Linked DNA regions of Homo sapiens: all the other regions are linked to region 1. The links are contacts of gene promoters, found by promoter capture Hi-C in human tissues and cell types (Jung and others, 2019). All regions are on one chromosome and are shown on one strand. Each heading gives the region's core, a stretch centred on a gene start or on the middle of the fragment in contact. The rest is flanking DNA. Distances are from core to core; before and after follow the strand shown.

Region 1 (3,549 bases), core at 574-3,073:
CCCCAGCTCTCTCCAGCTGCACAGCCCTGGGGAGAAAGGAGAAAGAGCAGAGAAGCCCACCCCTCACACACCCGGTTAGTCTCCCCTGCCCACTGGCAGGCCCTGGGGCAGGCCCCTAGATGGGTCTGCAAAGGGACACTGCCCCCTTGCATTCTGCCCCCCCTTCTACATGGCTCCCCCACCCACCCTTCTACACGGTGGCTTCTGAGGGCAGCCCCTGGAGGTGATCATGACCCCCCATCTTGATCTGAGGATTAACAGATACAGGTTCACCTGGTGAAAATGCAGGAGCTGTAGGGGTAGGACCCATCACTCATCTGACTGCATGTTGTAATTCAATGGACAGTTTACTAAAGTAATAGTCTTCTTCCTGTCCTCTGCTGAGCACCCATCTGGCCAACGGTCCTGCGCTCCCTCAGGGCCAGCGGCCCATCTCCTCCTGTGCCTCCTGGAGGGCTTCGCAACTGCCTCCCTCCTCTGGGGAATCTTGCCCCACTGACTGACCTTTCGGCTCTCAGATCCCAGGTCCCTCCCTCGCAGATACGGCAACAGGCTCTCTTGGGATTTCAATCCCGCCTTCCCATCAGCTACTCTTCAAAACACTAACTGGTATTAGCTCCTTCAGAGAACTCTCTGGCTTTCCAGGCCTACAATCTCCCTCCCTAGAATGAAAGCTCAGTGACAGAAGTGCCCTTAAACTTCTGAGTGACACGAGGCCCTCAGCCGGCCCTGAATCAATACTGGCTGGATCAGTGAGTGAATAAATGCACATGTGAGTAAGGAATGAAGGGAGCGAAAGAACTGGATTAGAAGCTGCTTGGGGCAGAGATGTGCCTTACAGGCTTCATGAAGAGTGGGTGATGAAAAAGGTAAATGGAGCATCTAAGAGGAAGCTTTGATAGAAGGGAGAATGCAAGAGAGGTTGGAAATTGGAATCCATTGGAATTGGGAGCCTGGGGAGATGCCAGGACAGGCACTCTCTGGCCTAGGACTCTGCAGAGGGCAGCCTCAGCAGGCAAGCCAGGCCCCCAGCTTCTGGGGCCGGTCGCACCCATTATGGCCCCGAAACGGCTGGGTGGTGGTCTGCAGCCTGCCCAGGGCCGGCTGGGAGACAGGCAGGGTCCCCACCACTCTCTTGCCTCTGGGCAAAAGCTGGCCTCCTGACCCTGGGGGATGGACGGGAGCAGGGGCCACACAACACACTCCCAAACATATAATCGGCCTCCTTCACCCTCGCCCACGCTCAGTCACACACAGCCTCGGTCATACACACTCACACTCACTCTCCGGCACACTCTCAGAGCATCACATAATTTCAGTGAGACACAATCCCAAAGACTAACACGGACAACCTCTGAGTCTCACACAATCTCAGGGCCACACACAGGCACACAATCAGACGAGCTCAGGAACGCCCCCGTCTCTGACACACGCAATCTGAGGTTTACACGCGCGCGCACACGCACACACACAGACACCAGCCGGCGCTCCCGCACGCGGCTCCCCCACCCCCGCCACGCCACGCCCCCATTGCCTGGGAACTGGCGGCCCCGCCCCGCAGCGTTTGAGGCGCCGCAAGCCTTCACGCCCCTCGGGCCTTGCAGATCCCTCTCCCAGTTTCCGCGGCGGTCCGGTGCGGTCAGTACCTGTCTAAAATCAATATTGCCGAGGCCTCCGCAGCAGTCAGGCCCTGCCACCGAGCTGTTCGTTACCTCGGCTCCCGGGTTCCCAGATCTCTTCATCCGGGGGCCGCCTCAGGAGGCACCACGCGGGCCCCGCTGCAGCCACGCGCCCCCGGAACCGGACCTATAGAGCCGGGTAAGTGCCGCCAGTCGGGGCGCTTTCCCGGTGACCCCCAACATATTCCGGCCTTCTGGGAAATGTAGTTCCCCGTCACCGCGAAGTGCCTCTTTATCTGGGGGCTCGCGACAGCGTCTAGAGGAGCCGAGAACTACAAGTCCCAGTGTGTTTCGCCGCAGAGCCTGCCGGTTCCGCTGCAGCTACGTAGCAGTATCCCCTTGGATCCGGCCTCCCGCCCAGTGCCTTTGGTCGCCGGCTGCCGCACCCGAGCCTGTAACTGACCTGGCGTCCCTGCCCTTGCCTGGCGGCGGTGGGGCTAGAGGCCGGGGGCCGCGGGTCGTAGCTATAAGCAGCTTCCCGCGCAGCCTCCTGCGGACTTGGACTTGGCCCGGGTCACACACGCCCAGGGCCCCACACGCCCAGGGCCCCACGCCCTCTTCTGAAATTCGCTTTACTCTGGGGGCGGTGCGCGACGAGCACTGCCTAGAGCTTCCCGCCCCCGCGGCGCCCAGGCTCTTTAGCTCGGCCAAAGACCCCTCCTCCACTCATTTTTTCCTTCATTCATTCTCTCATTCACTCTCGAGTATTTTCTGAACCAGACTGTGCGCTGAGGGTACGGTAGGGAACAACACAGAGTCCCCCGCCCTCGCTTCCTCCTGACTGAGATAAAAGACAAAATGTGAATAAAGGGTTATAATATGGATGAGTACTGTGGTGGAAAAAACGGGGTGGGTCAAATGGTACGGAAGGATGCTGTCTTAGAATGTGCAGGGGAGGTGCCAGATGTGCCAAGTGTGAGGGCAGGGCAAACAAGGCAAGACGAATGGTATGTACAAAGGCCTGGAGACAGGACGGGCACCTAAGGAACAGAGAAAAGACCGGTGAGCTGTGGAGTAGTGATGGAGGGGGTCAAATGGAGAAGAGTTTAGACGATCGGGTCCCAGAAGAACCCCTTTTGTAGGCCGGGTGTGGTGGCTCATGCCTGTAATCCCAGCACTTTGGGAGGCCGAGGTGGGCGGATCACCAGAGGTCGGCAGTTCGAGACCAGCGTGACTAACACGGTGAAACCCCGTCTCTATTAAAAATACAAAAAATAGCCGGGTGTGGTGCGCGCACCTGTAATCCCAGCTACTCAGGAGGCTGAGGCAGGAGAATCGCTTGAACCCAGGAGGTGGAGGTTGCAGTGAGCGGAGATGGTGCCATTGCATGCCAGCCTGCGCGACAGAGCGAGACTCCCTCTCAAAAAAGAAAAAAGCCCTTTTGTAGCCAGGTGTTATGTAATATGGGGAAATAGACTGAGAGGTTCCAAGATTTGCTCAGTCACCCAGACTGCTGGGGGCCCAGACAGGACTTCTGCAGTCAGCTGCTTCCTGCTCCAGATGGCCCGTTTCTCTCCACCTTGGCCCACAGCACCTACCAGTGTTGAGCATTTACTGAGCAGCCACTGTGTGCTGCTTTAGAGGTAGTCCCAATCTTCACAACATCGCTAGGATGGGGCAGGCCAACCGAGGAGACAGGAAAGACACTGGCTTTGGAGCATGCACTATCTCTGTGACTGAGCCCACCTTCATTTTCCTCAAAAGTAAAAGGGAAATACATGTTGGTAAAACTCATCACCCAGGAACTGGCCTGTGGGAAGTGCTCAGTAGGCATTGGCCCCCGGCAGGGCTGGGGACACAGGCTCAGGGCTGGTTCTCTGACTTACCACTGTTACTAATGAGTGTCGGGACCCTTTCCCTGCTCAGTGTC
Region 2 (3,326 bases), core at 221-2,720, 380 kb before region 1:
TACAGGTGTGAGCCACCGTGCCTGGCGAATAAAATTCTTAACAAAGAAAAAGAACACTTGAGTTTAGTGCTGGCTCCCAGGCTTCCTAGCTGCATGGTCTAGGGCAAATTGATTCATCTCTTCTGAGCTTCACTTTCCTCATCTAAAACGATAATGAGAGGAGGGACTTGGAGTTGTGGAGGTATAAAGAAGGACTCAAATCCCTCCAGAGAGGGATAAACAAAAATAAAACTGGGGGAAAACAGTTTTCAAAAACAGCCACTTCAGGGCTGGAAATCTACCAAAGGCAGACAACAAAATGAGAAGCTTTATTTGATTTTTATTTATTTTTTGTCTTCCAGTTTCTATTTTTAACTTTGTCGGTATATAGTAGGTATATATATTTATCGGGTACATGAGATATTTTGGTACAGACATGCAATTTGTAATAATCACATCAGGGTAAACAGGATATCCATCACCTTAAGCATTTATCCTCTTTTGTGTTACAACATTTAGTTATTAGTTTATTTATTTATTTATTTATTTGAGACGGAGTCTTGCTCTGTTGCCCAGGCTGGAGTGCAGTGGTGCGATCTCAGCTCACTTTGCAAGCTCTGCCTCCCAGGTTCACGCCATTCTCCTGCCTCAGCCTCCCAAGTAGCTGGGACTACAGGTGCCCGCCACCACGCCCAGCTAATTTTTCGTATTTTTAGTAGAGATGGGGTTTCACTATGTTAGCCAGGATGGTCTCGATCTCCTGACCTCACTATCTGCCCTCCTCGGCCTCCCAAAGTGCTGGGATTACAGGCGTGAGCCACCGTGCCCGGCCTAGTTTTTTATTCATTTATTTTTCAGATGGAGTCTTGCTCTGTCAGCAGTGACGTGATCTTGGCTCACGGCAACCTCCGTCTCCCAGATTCAAGCAATTCTCCTGCCTCAGCCTCCAGAGTAGCTGGGATTACAGGCACCCACCACCACGCCCGGCTAATTTTTGTATGTTTAGTGGAGACGGGGTTTCACCATGTTGGCCAGGCTGGTCTCGAACACCTCACATCAGGTGATCCGCCCACCTTGGCCTCCCAAAGTGCTGGGATTACAGGTGTGAGCCACCGTGCCTGGCCGTTTGTGTTTATTTTTTATTTTTTGAGACAGAGTCTCGCTTTGCTGCCCAGACAGGAGTGCCATGGGGCCATCTCAGCTCACTGCAACCTCCACCTCCCTGGTTCAAGCGATTCTCCTGCCTCAGCCTCCTGAGCAGCTGGGATTACAGGTGCCTGACACCACGCCTAGCTAATTTTTGTACTTTTAGTAGAGATGGGAGTTCACCATGTTGGCCAGGCTGGTCTCGAACACCTGACCTCAGGTGATCCGCCCACCTTGGCCTCCCAAAGTGCTGGGATTACAGGTGTGAGCCACAGTGCCTGGCTATAATAACCATTTTAATATGTGTGTGTATGTCATTAACATCATGTCGTATACCTTAAATATATACAATTTATTTTTTAAAAGCTTATACAAACTATATTATCAGATAAGGGGTTAATTTCCACAATATATAAGAGCTCAAGTGATTCTCCTGCCTCAGCCTCCTGAGTAGCTGGGACTACAGGCGTACACCACCAGCCTGGCTAATTTTTTTTTTTGTATTTTTAGTAGAGACGGGGTTTCACCATGTTGGCCAGGCTGGTATCAAACTCCTGGGCTCAGGTGATCCTCCTGCCTCGGCCTCCCAAAGTGCTGGGATTACAGGCGTGAGCCACCATGCCCGGCCCTGAGTGTAAGTATCTTGAATGTAAAATCAGGAAACCCTTGACTGCCTTCAAACACATGGGGAAGGTTCAAGATCTGGAACTTGTTTTCTGTCTCTTCCATTTTGTGAAAAGCTACAAAATCAGGAACCCCTATTCCCTCACAAGGACAGCAGAGTCTGGCCTGGTCTTGGGCTGGCATAGGTTCAGCTCAGCCTCCTGCTCTTCTGCACTCATGACCAATAGGAAAAATCTTCAAGAACTGCATGCCTGTGGGGAGAAAAAGCCCACAGCTGCCTAGAAACACCAGTTGGCAGCTGGGTGCGGTGGCTCACCCCTCTAATTCCAGCACTTTAGGAGGCCGAGGCGGGCGGATCACGAGGTCAGGAGTTCGAGACCAGTCTGGCCAACATGATGAAACCCCATCTCTACTAAAAATACAAAAATTAGCCGGGTGTGGTGGCATGTACCTGTAATCCCAGTTACTCGGGAGGCTGAGGCTGAATTGCTTGAACCAGGGAGTCGGAGCTTGCAGTGAGCCGAGATCACACCACTGCACTACAGCCTGGCAACGGAGCAAGACTCTGTCTCAAAAAACAAAAACAAAAACAAAACCACCAGTCGGCATAGGGCCTTGCCTGCCCCCTCGCCAGCAAGCTCTGTTAGACATGGGAAATCCAGGTCACACATGCCCCTGAAGTGAATGCAGAGCTAACTTACACTGGGCTCCTACTTGCCAAGTGGATTCAGCCACTAGACTGGCAGACAACTGGCAAAAACTGAGCATAGAACCACGTTCCCAGGAATGCCATGCACGAGAGAAAGACAGGAATCTGTACCCGAAGCCGGGGAGGACAGTGGGTGGTCATCTCTCCCTTGACCCACATTGGCCAGGGGGTCCCCTCCCACTCGAGGTAGATGACTAAACCGTGAACCTGCTGTTTTAGGGATTGCCACGGTCACCCAGGGTGATTCCAGCCATCTTCCTCTCAGATGGACATGTCTTTTAAATATCATCATTATTAAGGGATGAGCCATTTCTAATGCTGAACAAAATGAAAAGCACATGGGCATAGGTACTCAACAGATGTCCTTGGGATAAATGAGTGTTTGCTTCTCTCCAACACCAACTCCAACGACTAACTTGGAGAAGATTGTCTACGATCATTATAGCAGCTTAACTGTGCGAATTGGCCACTCACTGGTATTTTGTTTTGTTTTTTGAGATGGAGTCTCACTCTGTTGCCCAGGCTGGAGTGCAGTGGTGTGATCTTGGCTCACTGCAACCTCTGCCTCCCGGGTTCAAGTGATTCTCCTGCCTCAGCTTCCTGAGTAGCTGGGACTACAGGCATCTGTCACCATGCCTGGCTAATTTTTTATATTTTTAGTACAGACAGGGTTTCACCGTATTAGCCAGGATGGTGTCGATCTCCTGACCTCGTGATCCGCCTGCCTCAGCCTCCCAAAGTGCTGAGATTACAGGCATGAGCCACTGCGCCCGGCTGACTCACTGGTATTTTTTAACCATAGTATTTCCTGTGCCTGAGCGCAAATAAATAGTAGGCATCAAACCAATAAAACCATGTAGTAACAATT
Region 3 (3,680 bases), core at 969-3,468, 320 kb before region 1:
TATTAATTACCCTATCTGTTCGACAAGCTTACTAGTTGAGCCCCATCCTACAGTTTGCATCCAGCACCCGCCTGAATGTAATAGATGTACCTACATATTCCAACTTCTATAACACATCACAATATCGCCAACTTGCCTGTGTTTATCAAACCCAATGTTGAGCAAGCCCATAAACAACCTACACCTCTGACTTGGTGTGAATCACACACTTTGGTTGCTTACCTGGCAGAGATCAGCATGTATTGAGGTCAGCTGGTTTGTATTCATCTGCATCTTGTCTATGGCTTGCTTAAGGATGCCAATTCCTCGCAGGGGCTGTCAGAAATGACATCTCTTTCAGATAAGTTCTCAAAGATGGCAGCACATTGGATCTTATGTTGTCACTTATAAATAAAAAATAACACTAATTGATAGGTTCCTTTAAATAGCAATATGAGGTTTCCATACTCTTTCAGGAAATTTCTGTCCCATTTAAGTCAGAAAACTTTTCTTAAGCTGTTTCTTGGAATTTTTAGATAACTCAGCACCATTTTTTAAATCATAAAAAGCTTTTATTTTTACAATGAAGATCAATAATCAAAAACAGTATTACTTTCTCAACAGTTTATTATATTAACATCTAAACAAATGAAAACTTTCCAAATCACTTATTATACAAGAGACAACAGCCTATGCTTAGGAAAATTACTTGTGGCTAAGGGTGTTGGCATTTTCCCATAGGGCAGTCTACCCCTTACCTGGTAGTAAATTACTACCAAAACTAACACCATAGATTTCAAAAGGACTGTTTCCTGCCCTGATTATAAATAAGAAGACCAAGTGTCAAGTAAGGCATAATCAGTTTTTGGCAGACTAAAATATAGTCTCTTCCAAAATTGCTGGGCACGGTGGCTCACACCTGTAATCCCAGCATTTTGGGAGGCCAAGATGGGTGGATCATGAGGTCAGGAGATCAAGATTATCCTGGCCAACATGGCAAAACCCCATGTCTACTAAAAATACAAAAATTAGCCGGGCATGGTGGGATGTGCCTGTGGTCCCAGCTACTCAGGAGGCTGAGGCAGGAGAATCGCTTGAACCCGGGAGGCGGAGGTTGCAGTGAGCTGAGATCGCGCCACTGCACTCCAGCCTGGGCAACAGAGCAAGACCCCATCTCAAAAAAACAACAACAACAACAACAACAACAAAAATATATATATATATATGTGAAGAGACTAAAAATAGCTCAATAACTTACAGCTTTTTCAAAAACTCATGATTTTTCTTAACCATCTCTTTCAAACATGGTTACTTAGTACTACAAAATAACAACTGGTTCTATTTTCAGCCTCTTTCAAACCACTAATCTTAAATTTACTTTCAAATTAAAAAGAAACACCTGGCTGGGTGAAGTGGCTCACACCTGTAATCTCAGCCCTTTGGGAGGCTGAAGCAGGCGGATCACCAGAGGTCAGGAGTTCTAGAGGCTAGCCTGGCCAACATGGCAAAACCTCACCTCTATTAAAAATACAAAAATCACTGGGAGGCCGAGGCAGGCGGATCGCCTGTGGTCAGGAGTTTGACACCAGCCTGGCAAACATGGTGAAACCCTGTCTCTACTAAAAATACAAAAATTAGCCGGGCATGGTGTCAGGCACCTGTAATCCCAGCTACTTGGGAGGCTGAGGCAGAAGAACTGCTTGAACCCAGGAGGCGGAAGTTGCAGTGAGCCGAGATTGCGCCATTGCACTCCAGCCTGGGTGACAGAGCGAGACTCTGTCTCAAAAAACAAAACAAAACAAAAATCAGCTGGGAAAGGTGACATGCGCCTGTAGTCCCAGCTACTCAGGAGGCTGAGGCACGAGAATCGCCTGAAGCTGGAAGGTGGAGGTTGCAGTGAGCTGAGATCACACCACTGCACTCCAGCCTAGGCAACAGAATGAGACTCCATTTCAAAAAAATAAATAACTAAATAAATTTTTTAAAAATCCACATTATAAATTATGTATTATAAAAGATAAAGAATGAAATAACTGTTCAGATTAAGGGACACTAAAGAAACAAAGCAGTCTAATGCAATCCATGGTCCACGGTTTTCTTTTGCTATATAATATATAGTACACTGTCCAAACAGCTAATGTCCTTTTATAGCAAAAGACAGTCCTTTTCACTGGGGGAAAATCTAAATGGGGTCTGTCAATTTGTTGATGCATTATATTAACGTTCATTTCTGGGCCGGGCGTGGTGGCTCACGCCTGTAATCCTGGCACTTTGGGAGGCCAAGGCGGGAGGATTGCCTGAGCTCAGGAGTTCGAGACCAGCCTGGCAACATGGTGAAACCCCGTCTCTACTAAAATACAAAAAATTAGCTGGGCGTGGCAGCATGCACCTGTAGTCCCCAGCTACTCAGGAGGCTGAGGCAGAAGAATTGCTTGAACCTGGGAGGTGGAGGTTGCAGTGACCAGAGATGGCGCCACTGCACTCCAGCCTAGGCATCAGAGCGAGACTCTGTCTCCAAAAAAAAAAACAGTAAGAGTTCATTTCTGGATGCTGACCATTACACTATACTATGTAACAGAATGTCCTAATTTTTAGGCTTTACCCACTGAAGTATTTAGGGATAAAGAACAGCAATAGCATATGTGCAACTTACTCTACAATGGCTCAGAATAAAAGAGGAAGAGAAAAAAAAAAGAATAAGTGCGGTAAAATGTTAACATTTGGAAAATCTAGGTAAAATGTATGAGAATTTTTTATATTATTTTTGAAGCTTTTTGTAAGGCTAAAATAATGTCCTAATTAAAAGTTAAAAGAAAAAATGTAACAGACAAAACCCAGCATATTACAACATAAAGGGTACTGGCTTGGTAATTCCAACTACTTGGTAGTTCCAGCAGCAGCCTCCCTGAGGTGCCAAACCACCCCGTGCCTCCACCTCATTCAGGGGATGCGGGGACTGCCTGAGCTTACAGCAATGGCTGTGAGTGCTCTCAAGTGACCACAGATATCTAGGTGGTGGATGCTCAGTACTAACTGGAATCTTGATAAAGTAATTCATTGTGTAAGCTAGTTACATATTATAACAAAACTAGGAATACTTGAATAGTATTTCTTACCTGTTTTCTTTCCACAAGTGCATTTGTTAGCTGATGGCAAAGCCCAGCAACTAGATACAATAACAAAATATTCAAAATATAAATATAACCACAAGGGCAAAATATTTTCAATGGAGAATAAAATGTTATTTAGCTTACAAGTGTCTGTTGCATATCGAATGTGCTCCCCATTACAAGTGCTGATGAAGAGCTGAACCTGTGAGAATAGCGTTTCGAAGTCAGGAACACTGGGCATAGAAAACTTCACAAACCTAGAATAAGGAGAAAAGAATCAAATTACCCTGATAGTTCATGGGATAAAATACAGAAACAATGTATGCAAGAAATCCATCCTGCCTCCAATACTCTGTAAAATTAAATGAGCAACAGTATTTTTTAGAATTAAGAACTAGGCCAGGACAGTGGCTCATGCCCGTAATCCAAGCACTTTGGGAGGCTGAGGCAGGAGGACTGCTTAAGGCCAGGAGTTTGAGACCAGTCTGAGCAACATGGTGAGACCCTGTCTCTACTACAAAAAATAAATTAGCCAGGCGTGGGGGTACATGCCTGTAGTTGCAGATACTTGGGAGGCTGAGGCTGGAGGAT
Region 4 (3,810 bases), core at 633-3,132, 310 kb after region 1:
CAGCACAGTCCCAGGCAGGGGCAGGTACTCAATAGGTGGAAGTTAACTTTTTTTTTTTTTTTTTTTTTGAGACGAAGTCTCACTCTGTTGCCCAAGCTGGAGTGCAGTGGTGCGATCTCAGCTCACGGCAACCTCCACCTCCCGGGTTCAAGCAATTCTCCTGCCTCAGCCTCCTGAGTAGCTGGGACTACAGGCACCTGCCACCATGCCTGGCTAATTTTTGTATTTTTAGTAGAGACTGGGTTTCACTATGTTGGCCAGGCTGGTCTTGAACTCCTGACCTTGAGATCCTCCCGCTTCAGCCTCCCAAAGTGCTGGGATTACAGGTGTGAGTCACCGCGCCTGGCCAACATTTTTACAAAGAGGAAACTGATATCTAGAGAAGGAGTTGGTCTCAGTCTCAGAGCAGGCTGGTGACAGAAAAGGGACCCACCCAAAACCTTTAGCTCCTCTGCTCTGGGCTTCTGTACCTGACAGCACTGCACACACCTTATCTTCTGCTCGTATACATTTACCAAATTGAAGCTCACCACTCCCTGTTTCAGAGGACAGGAAAACCCAAAGGCAATACCAGAAGGCTTTGCTGGACTCCAGTGGCCCAGGCACCAAGCCATTCAGAGGTTGTGCTAAGTGGGCAGAGGGAAGGCCCTGTGAGGGGGGCAAGGCCAGGAGCAAGGAGTTCCCCAGATGACTTCTCTCCTCAAGGAGAATAGCACTCACTGTTAATGCCAGCATCACCTCTCTGTAGTTCCGGTTCCCGTTGAGCCGCTTCTTCAGGGCTCGAATGGCATCCTTTGGCCTGGAAAAAAGAACAGACATATAAAGATACTTACAATCCCACTTGAGGACACGATCCTACAGATATGTGAACTAGTATATATGCAAGACTATTTGCTGGCTGCAGCATGTTTGTAAATGTAAAAGACTGGGAACAAACTGAATGTCCATCAATACACAACAGGTTAAATTAAATCATTGACACAATGGAATACTATGCAGCTGCAAAAAAGAATAAAGAAACTCATGCACCAATATACACCAAACTCAAAGACATGTGCATAAAGTTCTTTGCATAACAGTGTACAAAGCTTGCTATTAGTTGAGTTATAGAAGGAAAGCAAACATACATAGCACAGGTGCCAGCGTAGGGAAGAGACTCTCTAGAAAGAGCTATAACAACCTGGTAACTGTGGCTGCCCCTAAGGAAGGGAACCAAAGGCGGAGGGAGGTTTTTCACTGGACTGCCTTTTTGCAGACCTCTTGAATTCTGTATCACATGCAAGTATTATTTATTCAAAACCCTAACTAACCCACTGGTGTGTGGGTACATAGAAGAGAGTTTTTCCAGAGAAACCATATGAGAGACACAGAAGAGAGCGTGCCAGGTCCTTGTGAGCCCTGGATGCCCGGCTCTTCCTGAATTCCATGGAACTCCTTTTCCCAGAGAAAGCTTAAGTGAGTCTCCTTAAAACCCAACAAGTTTTGTGTTTTTAGGTGACAGATCTGAGGTGGATTCCCAGATAAAATCTTGCAGAATTATAGACAGTACTCAGTTCACAAATGGGCTCTGTCCAAAAGTTGGAGTGGAGCTGTTTGGAAGTTGGAGTGAGTTCTTCCTTAATTACTCTTATACCTTAGAGTCAGGATTCCCAGGCAGCCCTCTAAGTATACATATTACATGTAGGTCTTGTGTCTAACATGTAATTTAATTTATTCTAACTCAGGATTCAACAAAGCTGTGGGCCTAGCAGCTGCCCCTGGCACAAAGCCCCTGTGCTGACCTGACCCATCACCCTATGCTCTGGGGAGCCCTCAGTCCGGCTGTGGGCCAGCGCTTTGCAATCACACATGGGTTCCAGCCTTCCACTAATCTATGTGTCAATATACTGGTCTTTCCCAGCTTGCACGTTTGTTAAGTCAGGGATCTCCTATTCCTACAGTTTTAAAACATTTATACTCTACCAAATGAAAAGGCCCCTTCAAATGTGTATGAGGAAGTTGAGGAGGGGAAAGGGTTGATGCTCTGCTAATCAGCTTAATTTAAGAGAAACTGGGCCGGGCATGGTGGCTCACAGTCTGTAATCCCAGCACTTTGGGAGACCAAGGCAGGTGGATAACCTGAGGACAGGAGTTTGAGACCAGCCTGGCCAACATGGTGAAACCCCGTCTTTACTGAAATATACAAAAATTAGCTGGGTGTGGTGGCAGCTGCCTGTAATCCTAGCTGCTCGGGAGGCTGAGGCAGGAGAATCGCTTGAACCTGGGAGACGGAGGTTGCAGTGAGCTGAGATCACGCCATTGTACTCCAGCCTGGGCGACAAGAGTGAAACTTCATCTCCATAAAAATAAAAAAGAGAAAGTGTGTCCAGCATTATGGCTCATTCCTGTAATCCCAGGACTTTGGGAGGCCGAGATGGGTGGATCACTTGAGGTCAGGAGTTCAAGACCAGCCTGGCCAACATGGTGAAACCCTGTCTCTACTAAAAATACAAAAAAATTAGCTGGGCATGGTGATGTGTGCCTGTAGTCCCAGGTACTCTGGAGGCTGAGGCAAGAGAATTGCTTGAACCTGAGATGTGAAGGTTGCAGTGAGCTGAGATTATGCCACTGCACTCCAGCCTGGGTGACAGAGTAAGACTCCATCTCAAAAAAAAAAAAAAAAAAGAGAGAAAGAAAGAAAAAAAGTTTAAGGAGCAAGGCTACTAGAAGAAAATTTTAAAACACCCTGAATCACCTGTTTCCCATTCCCAGCTTGACATATGGCTGCCCTGTAGGAATTCTTGGCCCCTGGGTCAAAGGGCTGATGAGACAGACACAAGGCTCCATGGGGACTGGGCCCAAGGCCAAGTATGTCTGCAGTACGGCTGCCATTTCCAAAAGGGGATGCTGATTTCTGCAAATATGGGACTTAACCGGCTCTCTGCTTTGAAGGCTGTTTGTGGCATGAGAGCTGATGAAATTCAGTGGCTACTGGCCAACAGCATGGACTGATTTCCTCTCTCCAAGGCTCTGCCAAACCACTGCTGTCCCTGACCCACAGCTGCCACACCCCTCAGTCCTCTCTTCTGTCCTCTTGAACTTCCATGGAACAGGAAAATAGGAAGAGCGCCTGAGGGCTGCAATCATTTCTGGCTGGCAGAGGACCAGCACACTCAGGGCTCTCCTGGTGTGGGGGCCACGGGGTGGGAAATCAGACAGTCAGCAGCTTCCTGGATGAGGTTTAAAATGAAAATTCATCCATAGGCTCTGGGAAGTACTGGCCGAGAGTGATGGGTGAGCACAAAAGCAAGTATTTATCTCTCTCCCCGGGGGAAAAGCTTCAGAGAGGAGGATCAAAGTCATGTCAAAGGAAACACAAAGTTTCAAGAAGCTGCAGCAGATTAGATAGTGTGGAGTTGGAAACCAGGAGAAGAGACAGAAGCATGTGTCAAGAGCCAAGATGGAGCAGAAAGAAAGGATCAGGAAGAATCAGTGGCCTGTGTTGAGATGGCATCAAGCCCTAGCAGCTTTCAGGGGAAAGGTCAGGCTCCTCAGGCAGTGCTCACAGCCTCGTGATTTGGCCTCTGGGCCATGATCAGGCTCCTCAAAGTCTCCCTGGACCCTAGACTTATAAGAACTCTTCCCTGATCCCCAAACAAGCCTCCTGTCATCCCTCCAGCCACAGCCTTTGTATCTTTGTCCTTCAGCTTCAGGACTACTCTCTGGAAAAGCTTTCTCCTCATCACCCCCAAGGAGGACATGGCTGCCCCTCTTCTGTCACCCTGAACATGCCCTCCCCATTATTATCTTGCTCTATTGCATGTCTTCAGT
Region 5 (3,444 bases), core at 818-3,317, 340 kb after region 1:
GCAGGAAGTCCACTTGAGCCCAGGAATTCAAAACCAGCCTGGGTAACACAGCAAGACCTTGTCTCTACCAAAAATTTAAAAATTAGCAGGGCTCAGTGGCACGCACCTGTAGTCCCAGCTACTCCACAGGCTGAGGTGAGAGGATCACTTGAGCACAGGATGTCGAGGCCGCAGTGAGTTGTGATCATACCACTGTATTCTAGCCTGGGGGACAGAGTAAAACTCTGTCTCTTGGAGAAAAAAAAAAAAAAAAGCTAGGTACAAGCTTTCAAGCTGGCCTAAACATAAGTAAGCTTCATTACTTAGTCTGAACATACAGACTTAAGGATAAAAGCCTGGTAACCCCAATATCTCTCAAAAGGCATTTTATTCTGACCAGGCCTCCCTGCTAACTCTCCCTTGTCCCAAAGGAGGTCACCCAGGGTACCCAGCTAGTTAAGGAGGACCAAACTGAGAGCCAGTCTGGACTGGCACAAGGGGAGATGCGGACATAAATGTACACGTGTTTCACATTCCAAAGCCAAATACAATAGGGTTCTAGATCATCTGGGAAATTACTCCTATTCATCAACATAGAAAGGTCACGAATATCAACAGTGAGAACAAACAGGGAAGATTACATTTAAATGTAACCATATTTGGGCCTGGTGTGATGGATTACACCTGTAATCCCAGCAGTTTTGGAGGCCGAGGCGGGCGGATTGCTTGAGCTCAGGAGTTCAAGACCAGCCAACATGGTGAAACTCCATCTTTACAAAATATACAAAAATTAGCTGGGCCTGGTAGCACACGCCTGTAATCCCAGCTACTTGAGAGGTTGAGGCACAAGAATCGCTTGAACCTGGGAGGCAGAGGTTGCAGTGAGCAAGGATCACACCACTGCACTCCTGTCTGGGCGACAGAGAGGGACTCTGTCTCAAAAAAAAGGAAGAAAGAAAAAGAAAAAGAAATGTAACCATATTTAAATATGAAGAAGAGCCCCAACACAAGCATGTATTCCTGTTTATACAATATTCAGGGCTAACAGACTTATCACACACAGGTTGTGTAACTTATTAATGACAATGTGACTTTAAACAGTAGTTCTAAGTGGGTCACCTTGAATAATACGAAACAAAGCTTGCCAAGGGAAACATGCAAATAAGATCAAAATCCAACAGGGAATAGGCATTTTCCTAGCTTTTCGGATTTTTACTGTAGAAAAATAAACACAGTATCTATCTAGTTTCTTTAGCACTAAAAAAACCAACAGCATGAAACTGCATTCTTCAATGGGGGTGGAGTCCAAAGGGACAGGCCCGACATTATTTTCAGCACACTGTACCAAGTCAAGCTGGTATGTGGATAAAGCAGCACAGCTGGGTTTACCATGTGAGTAACGGGCAGAGAGAACCTACCACCCTATGTGGCGCAAACCACATGAGGCCAGCTGCAGAGGCTGTGGAGAGAGGCCTCTCTTTATCCCTTCTTCTTTCCCTCCATCTCTTTCTGAGGCCAGGACCTGCATGCAGACCTTTCTTGATAAAGAACTCAACCTCAATGTGATACATCAAGGGAAACATTCCCTGAAGAACATGGTGGAGCAAATAAACATTTGGCCTCGTGAGAATGGCCACAGAAAACACTAGGGAATCTTAAACTGTCAGTTGGATGACTAGATATTTTATGATATTAAGGATTATGATTAATTTATTTTAGATATGATAATAAGCTGTTGGCTATACTTTTTTTTTTTTTTTTTGAGACAGGATCTCACTCAGTCACTCAGGCTGGGAATGCAGCGGCACAATCTTGGCTCACTGCAGCCTCAACCTTCCAGGCTCAAGTGAGCCTCCCACCCTCAGCCTCCTGAGTAGCTGGGACTACAGGCATGTGCCACCACACCTGGCTAATTTTTGTATTCGTGGTACAGCCAGGGTTTCACTATGTTACCCAGGCCTCCCAAAGTGTTGGGATTACAGGCATGAACCACCACACCCAGTCAGCTATACTTTTAAAAAGATTCCTTATCTTTTAGAAATGCATACTTAGGTATTCATAGATGAAATTATATGATGTCTGGGATTTACTGAAAAATAATCCAGGATAAAAGTGTGTGGGGCTATGGATGAACCAAAACTGCCATGAATTGATAATTGTAGAAGCTCAATGATGAGTATGTGGGGGTTCATTATAGTCATCTTTTTCCTTTTGTATATGTCTGAAATTTTCTGTAACAACAAAAAAAATCAGTAGGAGACAGCATAAAACCATTCATAACTTTGACCCGGCAATAGCCCCCTAAGGAAATAAATAAGGGGGAAGGGGAGAGCTGATTCTGCAAAGATGCATAATTGAGAAAAACACTGCTGCTCCCAACAAACGAGAAGATGGCTAAGCAACGAGGGTACATCAATAAGGCAAAAACGCTACGTGGCTTTTTAAAATGATAAATACTTCAGCCTAGTCGCTAAGTGGAAATCGGCATAGGAATGCTAAGAGGAAAACAGGCAGGATAAAATATTATGTGCATACTAATCACCACAAGGTAAAAATGCATGCTCACATAATGGAAAGGGTCAAAAGAGAACACAGAAGGCGACACCCTCCCTTTAACACTCAGCTCGTTGCCTCCTCTCAGTGAGGGCCCCAGACGGCCCCCGCGTGAGCATGCACACACGAGATGAATTAATTGCACTCTTCTGGGATCTCACAGTCCTCACTTGCTGAGGCTCATCCAGCCCCTATTGCTTGTCTAATGGTTCCTCATGGACCTGCCTTCCCTGATGCACCATGAATTTTACCAGCACACAGTAGGTATTCAATAATGTGTGTCAAACAGAATAGAACATAAATAGCTGCTGTCTGTGTCTCAGGATTTTTTTTTTCTTTAGAGCTATTCCCACCCACAGTAGCCATTCAGGAAAGGCATTCCTCAGTATCAGAGAACAATGCTTCCATTTCTGATTCACAAAGTGCTTCTGCTACGTGGGTTTATGAAGCCAGCAAGGCAAAACAAAATCAAGCAGACTTTCTGTCTAGATCCTTGCTGGACCACACAGAAAAATCCCATTTTGTTTTGCAAGCTTGTAACAAGTCTCATTGCTATGGTTCCTAATACCAAGTCTGAAGATTCCCCAAGCACTGCTGTGAGAACGGGCCTTTCCTTGGCTACTTAAAAATGCTGCATGGCTGCTCTCTGTGGCTGGCACTATAGTAAAGGGTACAAGCCAGAATGCAGTCGGGACTGTGGCTGCTCAGCAGCGTCAGGCGGGGAAGTCAAGAACTGCCCATCTAGACAGAAGTGGGCAGCAACACAGCCTGGGCCATGCTCCACCCAGTCTGAATGTTTCTCCATCTCTTCTGCTTAGAGCTGCTTTGAGCAGCAGGCTTTGGGTGGGTGAGAGGGGTTGATAGGGATATTCAAGAATGTCAGAGCCTGGGCGTGGTGGCTCACGCCTGTAA
Region 6 (3,593 bases), core at 403-2,902, 410 kb before region 1:
CCCTCAGGGGACACTTGTCTTGCCCTCTGTCACGAGGTGGAATTTACAGATGTCCACACTGGCAAGTGAAGTCTACCGTCACCAAAGGCCTCGCCCACCTAGTGAGCCACTTAGTGGCCTCTGTCTGTCAAGGCTAACAGGGTGGTCATTCTAGGAATGGATAAACCAGGACTAGAGCTTGGTGAAGATGGTTCAGAAGAGCGTGATAACTACAAGCAATAGGGGCGAAATATTTACCAGTATTTTTTTTTTTAATAAAACAAAAGCTTCTCACTAGGTGCCATTGAAGGCCCTATGCCAGAGAGGAGGTGGGGGAGGGCCCATGGTGGGAGACACCCTGAGAATGAGTAGTTGCCGGCTCAGTAGCTTGATCTCGTTCATCCCGGAATGAGAACATGGAGGAAAGCAAGAACCACGTCTTCCTCCCCATGCTGGCCCTTTCTCAGGCACACCCACAGCACCCCGCCGTCCGAAGGACTTCATCCTGAGGCTTGGTTAAAGAGTTGAAGGTTTTAAGCCTAGTCAGTTTGGTTTTATTTTTCTACAGTTCTAAGTCCCCTATACCCAAATATGGTTTAGGCTTGATTGAAAACTTAGCTTGGGCATTTTTCTTTAAACATAACGTTTTGTTTAGCAAAAGGAAACTTGTTCTTTTTTGGTTCACGGTTTTCTTACTGAAGATTCTACTACTTATTTGAGGCTAAACTGTAGCTAGTATCTTTGAGCTTTTCTTGAAGGAGTTTGAAGTTCACTATTAGTGATTTGGGCTTTTGGACCATGTCTATAAGTGACATGGGACCGGCTGTCACTGACAGGACCCTTCCAGGGAGGCTGTGCAACACCCACGGGCCCCTGACAGTAACTCTGTGCAGTGAGTGGGTGGGGGCCTCTCACAGTGGCTGGGAACCAGCCAGAGCAGGGATGAGGGAGCAGACTGTCTGGGCCCCAGGGCAGACTGAAAAGGATGGAGAGAAACCCCAGGATGGGGTCCTCCTCCTTATGTGTTTTTAAGTTGATGTTTGGCTTGGCTGGGTTTCCGTAATAAAAATCCTTGGAGTGCAGGGCTAGTCCTGCTGGCCCCAGCAGAAAGTCGAGGACTTCCTAGATGTCTGTGGTGCAACAGGGCAGGATGGGGCCGTGTTCGCGCTCCCAGGAGACATTAGGAGGCACAGGCATGGGTGGGTGTCATCCTTTTCCTCAACTGTATCTGAAGACTCCACCCAACCCTTCAAGAAGATGGAAATGCAGTTGCCCAGAAACCGTACTTCTCAGTGGTGTTTTTTGATGTGGCATCTGATGTGCACTGATCTGTGTCTTTTGTTCTGTTCTGTTTTTCTGTCCTGCCTCGCTCGAAAGGACCGCAAGTCTCAGCTGCTACAAAATCAAAGACAGCAAGTTGCTTAGGAGCAGCACAGCCTTTTCTGGGATTGAGACCAGAGAATGCTTCCCTCGGGGTTCTTAAGGGGCCCCCGTGTCTGTGGTCAGCTCAGTATGTGGGGCTACAGGAGGCACTCAGTGGAGACAACAGCCTAGGGGGAGATGAACCCCAGAGGGAGCTGGCTGAGCCTTGGGCTGAGCAGCCACCGGGAGAGAATCCAGAGGACGTAGAGAGAGAAACAGCCTCCTGCAGCCAGTGTGGGAATAACGTAGGGGATTTCACTTACTTCCCACCCTTGGAATTGTAGCAAGCCCAGCATCACCTGAGCCTGAGCTCTGCCCTTTGTCACTGGGGCAGGAGCCAGTAGCGAGCATGCTGGGTGCTGTGGCTGTCAGGGCGCTCCCCTCCCCTGGGCCTGCTGTAGCAGGAATCTGGGGCTTCTGACGCAGTGCCTGCAAGGAGCAAACCCAGGCCTTAGGAGTGATCAAACTCACTACAGTCCTGACAGAAAGTCCCCAACAAGCAGGAACCGGGATGTCAGTGACATCCCCCAGCCATGCTCCGGGGCCTGCCTCTGAGTAGCACTTAGGCTCAGGGCTGCCTGCCTGGCTTGGCCCCAGCCCCTTCAATGGTGACCAGATGTCTACCCAGGTCCTCTGCAAGACTGACTGCTGTGAGAACCCTGCACTCTGTGGGGAGGGACCCCCCAAGGGCACCTGGAAGCAGGCATGGGTGTTGAGGTACATCTGGGCTCAGAATGGGAGATGGATTTTCCCCCCATTCCCCCAGCCACTCTCTGTGGCAGGCTTCCAAAGAAACCCTCTCAGAAACACACAATTATCAAGCTGTGACAACTGCTTGAGGTGAGGCTCACCTGGACCAGTGAGGTTGTTTGTTTGTTTTGAGACGGAGTCTCGCTCTGTCGCCCAGGCTAGAGTGCAGTGGCGCGATCTCTGCTCACTGCAAGCTCCGCCTCCCGGGTTCACGCCATTCTCCTGCCTCAGCCTCCCATGTAGCTGGGACTACAGGCGCCTGCCACCACGCCCAGCTAATTTTTTGTATTTTTTAGTAGAGACGGGGTTTCACTGTGTTAGCCAGGATGGTCTCGATCTCCTGACATCGTGATCTGCCCGCCTCGGCCTCCCAAAGTGCTGGGATTACAGGCGTGAGCCACCGCGCCCGGCCTGGACCAGTGAGTTTTAAAATGCTTAGCAGCAGAACCCTGTATTTAAAAATCACATTGTTTATTTATTTACACAGACACATAGCTCCAGAATATAGCAAACAAGCAGGTCTGTTCTGGGTAGAGCTGGGTGGGGTGGGGGACAGTGGAGCTCCCCCTTCCCTTGAGCTTTGGAGGGAGCCTCAAGCTGACCAGCCCATGCTCAGTCCCCAGTCTATCACACCAGAGTCTCCAGGACAGTGCCAGAGTGTGCCTGAGCCTAAGCTGGCGACTTCCCAGTAGATGGGGTACAGCCTGCAGTTTCACGTTGCTCAGGTTTTTGGTTGAAACTGGTAGAATCAGGCAGACCCTGAGCTAGAGCCCATCCCTTCAGCTTCCAGTTTCTCAGTAAAGCCTGTACCTGCACCAGCTCTGGCAAGGGTAAGCCACAGGGAGTCAGCAGGGCTGAGTGTGATGGCGACACTTAGCGTGAAGAGGGAGATAAGTGAAGAGCCACAGCACTTTCCAGTCAGTACTGGAATGCCCTTCATTTCCAGTCATTCTCTGAAAAGTGCTCTTCCTTTTCTTATTCAGAAATTAAATCATTGAGGAAAGTCTGTAAGAATGAGATGGGAAATACTCTGTCCCCTAGTTAGTAAGATCTCATTCATCTCTGGACATACAGATTTAAGCTTTAGCAAGATTCCACGTGAACAGAGTATTGGTTTTATGTTTTGAAAATCTTACTAGATACGTTGGCGTGTTCCCACATCCCCATAACACTCACAGGCCTCTGATGAGGGAATGCCAGAAATGGGTCTGAGGGCAGCAGGTGCTGCGGAGGCACTGTAGGAGCGAGGCCCTGTCCCGGGACACCCATCCTGCTGGGGATTCCCTGGAGCATCTGGTCCTCCTCAGCTGAGGCTGTCAGGTGAAGAATCTCTGGAGCTGGATGTGGACAAATCCATTCACAAGACAAGACACGGGGATGGGCAGTCTCCTTGCTCATTGCACTGTTTTCCCTGGCTGGATTCGTTTGATCACTGCTTCTCT
Region 7 (3,574 bases), core at 789-3,288, 480 kb after region 1:
CGCCCAGCTACTTTTTGTATTTTTAGTAGAGATGGGGTTTCACCATGTTGGCCAGGCTGGTCTCGAACTCCTGATCTCGCAATTTGCCCACCTCAGCCTCCCAAAGTGCTGGGATTACAGGCACGAGCCACCGTGCCCGGCGGCCTCTTCATGCTCTTGATAGTGCCTTAATGATGCACAAAAGTTTTTTTTTTTTTTTTTTTTTTTTTTGAGACGGAGTCTCGCTCGGTCGCCCAGGCTGGAGTGCAGTGCTATCTCAGCTCACTGCAAGCTCTGCCTCCTGGGTTCACACCATTCTCCTGCTTCAGCCTCCCAGTAGCTGGGACTACAGGCGCCCTCCACCACTCCTGGGTAATTTTTTTTTTTTTTGTATTTTTAGTAGAGACGGGGTTTCACCGTGTTAGCCAGGACGGTCTCGATCTCCTGACCTCGTGATCCGCCCACCTCAGCCTCCCAAAGTGTTAGGATTACAGGCGTGAGCCACCGCGCCTGGCAAAAGTTTTTCTTTTTGATATAATCCCATTTATCTATTTTTTTTTTCATTTTGTTGCCTGTACTTTTGGTGTCATATCCAAGGAACCATTGCCAAATTTTAATGAATTTCTAGGTAACCATTTATTATAAATTATAGTACAGCTATATAATGAAACACCTCTCAGCATTTCTTATAAAAAGAAATGTACTATAGCGATACAACACAGATGAATCTGGAAACATTATGCTGAGCAGAGGAATCTAGACACAGAAGACGATATGCTGTGTGATTCCGTTCAGATGAAGTTGTAGAAAAGATGAGTCTAACTGGTAGTGATAGAAAGCAGATGGGTGGCAGCCTGGGGCTGAGTTGGGGTGAGGACTGAGTGCGGGGGGGTGGTGGTTTCTGGAGTGATAGAGATGTTCTGTGTGTCAAATGTGGGGGTGGCTGCATCGCCCTATGCATTTGTCAGAACTCATTGAATTATGCACTGGAGAATGGTGTGTTTTATTGCAAGTAAATTATGCTTAAAAAAAAGTTGAATCAAAAATATTTTTAAAAACCATCCATTAATTCAGAAACAGTAGGGATGCATTGTACAAAACTAGAAAATTCAGACCAGCAAGAGAAGGAGTTTTGCTTACTTTTCCGAAGGGAGGTGTGACAGCATATTTGTATGCTGTTGAAAATGACACAGCAGAATGCAAAGTTCAAGCTGTAGGACAGGGATGGCTCAGGTAGAAGCACTGAGAGTTTGTTTCTGGGAACAAGCAGCCATGCCAATGCTGGCAAGTTGGAAGTTTGTGGAAGTTCTTGTCTCATTTCTTCAATGGTTCTTAGTGAGCTTGAGAGCAAGGTAGACAACCCTCCTGAGGATGAGGATAGGGGGAGAGGTATTGGGCCTTTGAGGAGAAAGAAGGCACGAGATGGTTGTCCAGGAGAGGAAGAGTGGATGGATGCGGAAGTCAAGCATGCCCCAAGCAAGCATGGGGATGTTCCCAACCCAGGTGCAGGTGCAGAGTAGGAAGAGGCCTGTGGTTTTGCAAGTACAGGTGAGTGAAGAGTCAGGGAGTTGTTGTGTGTGCAAGGGAGTGAAGTAAGTGAAGACCATGGAATTCAAGCTGGATACGGAGGGAGAGAGGACTTCAAGGGGATGAAGGTGGTAGCACCAATGGATTGGAGATCTTGGTGGGCTCAAAGGATGGATGGAATCAGAATTCTAGAAAATTGGGGCTGAACTTGGTGGCTCACACATCTATAATACTAGCACTTTGAGAGGCCAAGGTGGGAGGATCACTTGAGCCCAGAAGTTGGAGACCAGCCTGGGCAACATGGCAAAAACCCATCTCTACAAAAAATACAAAAATTAGCGAGGCATGGTGGTGCATGCCTGTAGTCACAGCTACCAGGGAGGCTGAGGCGGGAGGACCTCTTGAGCCCAGGAGGTGGAGGTTGCAGTGAGCTGAGATCACACCACTGCACTCCAGCCTGGGTGACAGAGTGAGACCCTGTCTCAACAACAACAACAAAATAATAAATAAAAATAGAAAGTTGGAAAGGGAGAAGCTTTCACATTCAAATTTGGTCAGACCTCTCTTTACCTTAAAAGTGTTCCTATTGCCCACAAGATCAAATCCAGACCCCTCAGGAGAACCTCAGGTGTGACCAGTCCTCTGTGACCTGTCCAGCATCCATCTGGCTTGCTGGAGATGCTGCCAGACCTGCAGAGCCCCCAGGCAGAGCCCACAGGAAATCCCCCCAGCCCTGCTCATTCCCACTTTTTGACCTTGGCCTGACTTACTCTCTAAGGGAACCATCTTCCCCAGAACATTTTTCCTGATGTTTCTGCCTGCACCATCCACTCTGTATTAGGGTCCACCATGCATGCTCCTGGACCCCATGCTGCTCATCTCTTTAGTGGGGAGGAATCTTACTCCATTAACTTTATTTTCCTTATCTCAAATCAGATTAACAGCCTGCATCGTGCCAAGGTTGCAGAAAATGACACCTGAGTGTTTCTTATTGGGACTCTCCCTTCACCTGGTCACAAAAGGGCCTCGTGTCAGTGTCTCAGGCTGTAGGTGCTGAAGCTCTGGAGAGATCCTTCTCATCTTTAGTCTCTCCAGTTACCATGCAAGGGCCCCTTGCCCAGACCCCTTTCCTTTCCCATCTAAATGGCAACTTCTACCACTCTTGGGGGCCAAGAATATTTGCCATTTCCCAAGACTAGGAACTCCTGGCCGGGCGCGGTGGCTCATGCCTGTAATCCCAACACTTTGGGAGGCCAAGGTGGGCGGATCACGAGGTCAGGAGATCGAGACCATCGTGGCTAACACAGTGAAACTCCGTCTCTACTAAAAATACAAAAAATTAGCCAGGTGTGGTGGTGGGCACCTGTAGTCCCAGCTACTCGGCAGGCTGAGGGAGGAGAATGAAGTGAACCTAGGAGGCAGAGCTTGCAGTGAGCTGAGATCACTGCACTCCAGCCTGGGGGACAGAGCAAGACTCTGTCTCAAAAAACCAAAACAAACAAACAAACAAAAAGACTAGGAACTCTGGGGCCTGGTCACCCTGGGTGTACCACAGAGCCATTCCCTGCTGCCACCTGAGGCCAATCATCCCTCCAATGCACCTAGAGAGGGCCCCCGTGCAATTGTCTCTGCCTAACCGTGTTCCATAAGGGCTGGGGCCTGAAGCTTCCTGTAAGAATGAAGACAGCATTTAGGAGGTCTACTGGCTTTGTTTTCTGGATTTCAGCCCAGAAGTTTTCTCTAAAACCCTCAGATGTTAACTCATCACAGAAGACACGACTAGGTTCAAAAGGACAAACAGCCCTACACACTACCCCAACTCCAGACGTCTGAGGTTACTGCAGCTTCAATAAAGTGTGCATCAATTAGAATTAAAATGCTCCTTTTTCCATCCTGGGTCACATGGCAAAACCCGGTCTCGGCCATGTGCAGTAGCTCGTGCCTATAATCCTAGCACTTTAGGACCAGGTGCCGTGGCTCAAGCCTATAATCCCAGCACTTTGAGAGGCCAAGGCGGGTGGATCTCTTGAGGTCAGGAATTCAAGACCAGCCTGGCCAACATGATAAA

Evidence for each region. The method cuts DNA at HindIII sites, captures the fragments that hold promoters and counts their contacts. A contact is called where the count stands out against the background at its distance.
Region 2: a contact is called between a fragment that was not itself captured here and the fragment with the promoter of PEMT in region 1, in 2 of the 25 tissues and cell types used here (dorsolateral prefrontal cortex and pancreas).
Region 3: a fragment that was not itself captured here is called in contact with the fragment with the promoter of PEMT in region 1 in 1 of the 25 tissues and cell types used here (dorsolateral prefrontal cortex).
Region 4: a contact is called between a fragment that was not itself captured here and the fragment with the promoter of PEMT in region 1, in 1 of the 25 tissues and cell types used here (dorsolateral prefrontal cortex).
Region 5: a fragment that was not itself captured here is called in contact with the fragment with the promoter of PEMT in region 1 in 2 of the 25 tissues and cell types used here (dorsolateral prefrontal cortex and neural progenitor cells).
Region 6: a fragment that was not itself captured here is called in contact with the fragment with the promoter of PEMT in region 1 in 1 of the 25 tissues and cell types used here (dorsolateral prefrontal cortex).
Region 7: a fragment that was not itself captured here is called in contact with the fragment with the promoter of PEMT in region 1 in 1 of the 25 tissues and cell types used here (hippocampus).

What each region holds. Positions count from the first base shown.
Region 1 is chr17:17,589,885-17,593,433 of GRCh38, forward strand. It overlaps PEMT (phosphatidylethanolamine N-methyltransferase), which reads right to left and starts at 1,824. Exons shown (of 7, transcript NM_148172.3): 1 at 1,647-1,824. The coding sequence starts at 1,742. RefSeq lists enhancers at 1,269-2,010, 1,576-1,965. The HindIII fragment of the contact is 9,919 bases long and covers 409-3,549 here.
Region 2 is chr17:17,208,888-17,212,213 of GRCh38, forward strand. FLCN (folliculin) reads right to left here. Exons shown (of 14, transcript NM_144997.7): 14 at 3,325-3,326. Among named protein-coding and RNA genes, the nearest start is that of PLD6, 4.2 kb to the left of the region's middle. The HindIII fragment of the contact is 3,855 bases long and covers 1-3,326 here.
Region 3 is chr17:17,267,663-17,271,342 of GRCh38, forward strand. It overlaps COPS3 (COP9 signalosome subunit 3), which reads right to left. Exons shown (of 12, transcript NM_003653.4): 3 at 3,234-3,346; 4 at 3,096-3,145; 5 at 223-315. Among named protein-coding and RNA genes, the nearest start is that of COPS3, 12 kb to the right of the region's middle. The HindIII fragment of the contact is 3,862 bases long and covers 288-3,680 here.
Region 4 is chr17:17,897,876-17,901,685 of GRCh38, forward strand. TOM1L2 (target of myb1 like 2 membrane trafficking protein) reads right to left here. Exons shown (of 15, transcript NM_001082968.2): 3 at 721-799. Among named protein-coding and RNA genes, the nearest start is that of SREBF1, 63 kb to the left of the region's middle. The HindIII fragment of the contact is 3,262 bases long and covers 252-3,513 here.
Region 5 is chr17:17,925,940-17,929,383 of GRCh38, forward strand. All of the region lies in intron 1 of TOM1L2 (target of myb1 like 2 membrane trafficking protein), which reads right to left. Among named protein-coding and RNA genes, the nearest start is that of TOM1L2, 45 kb to the right of the region's middle. The HindIII fragment of the contact is 3,577 bases long and covers 280-3,444 here.
Region 6 is chr17:17,180,953-17,184,545 of GRCh38, forward strand. The region is part of intron 23 of MPRIP (myosin phosphatase Rho interacting protein); the gene reads left to right. Among named protein-coding and RNA genes, the nearest start is that of PLD6, 24 kb to the right of the region's middle. The HindIII fragment of the contact is 4,078 bases long and covers 1-3,593 here.
Region 7 is chr17:18,073,890-18,077,463 of GRCh38, forward strand. No RefSeq gene overlaps it. Among named protein-coding and RNA genes, the nearest start is that of DRG2, 12 kb to the right of the region's middle. The HindIII fragment of the contact is 4,809 bases long and covers 1-3,574 here.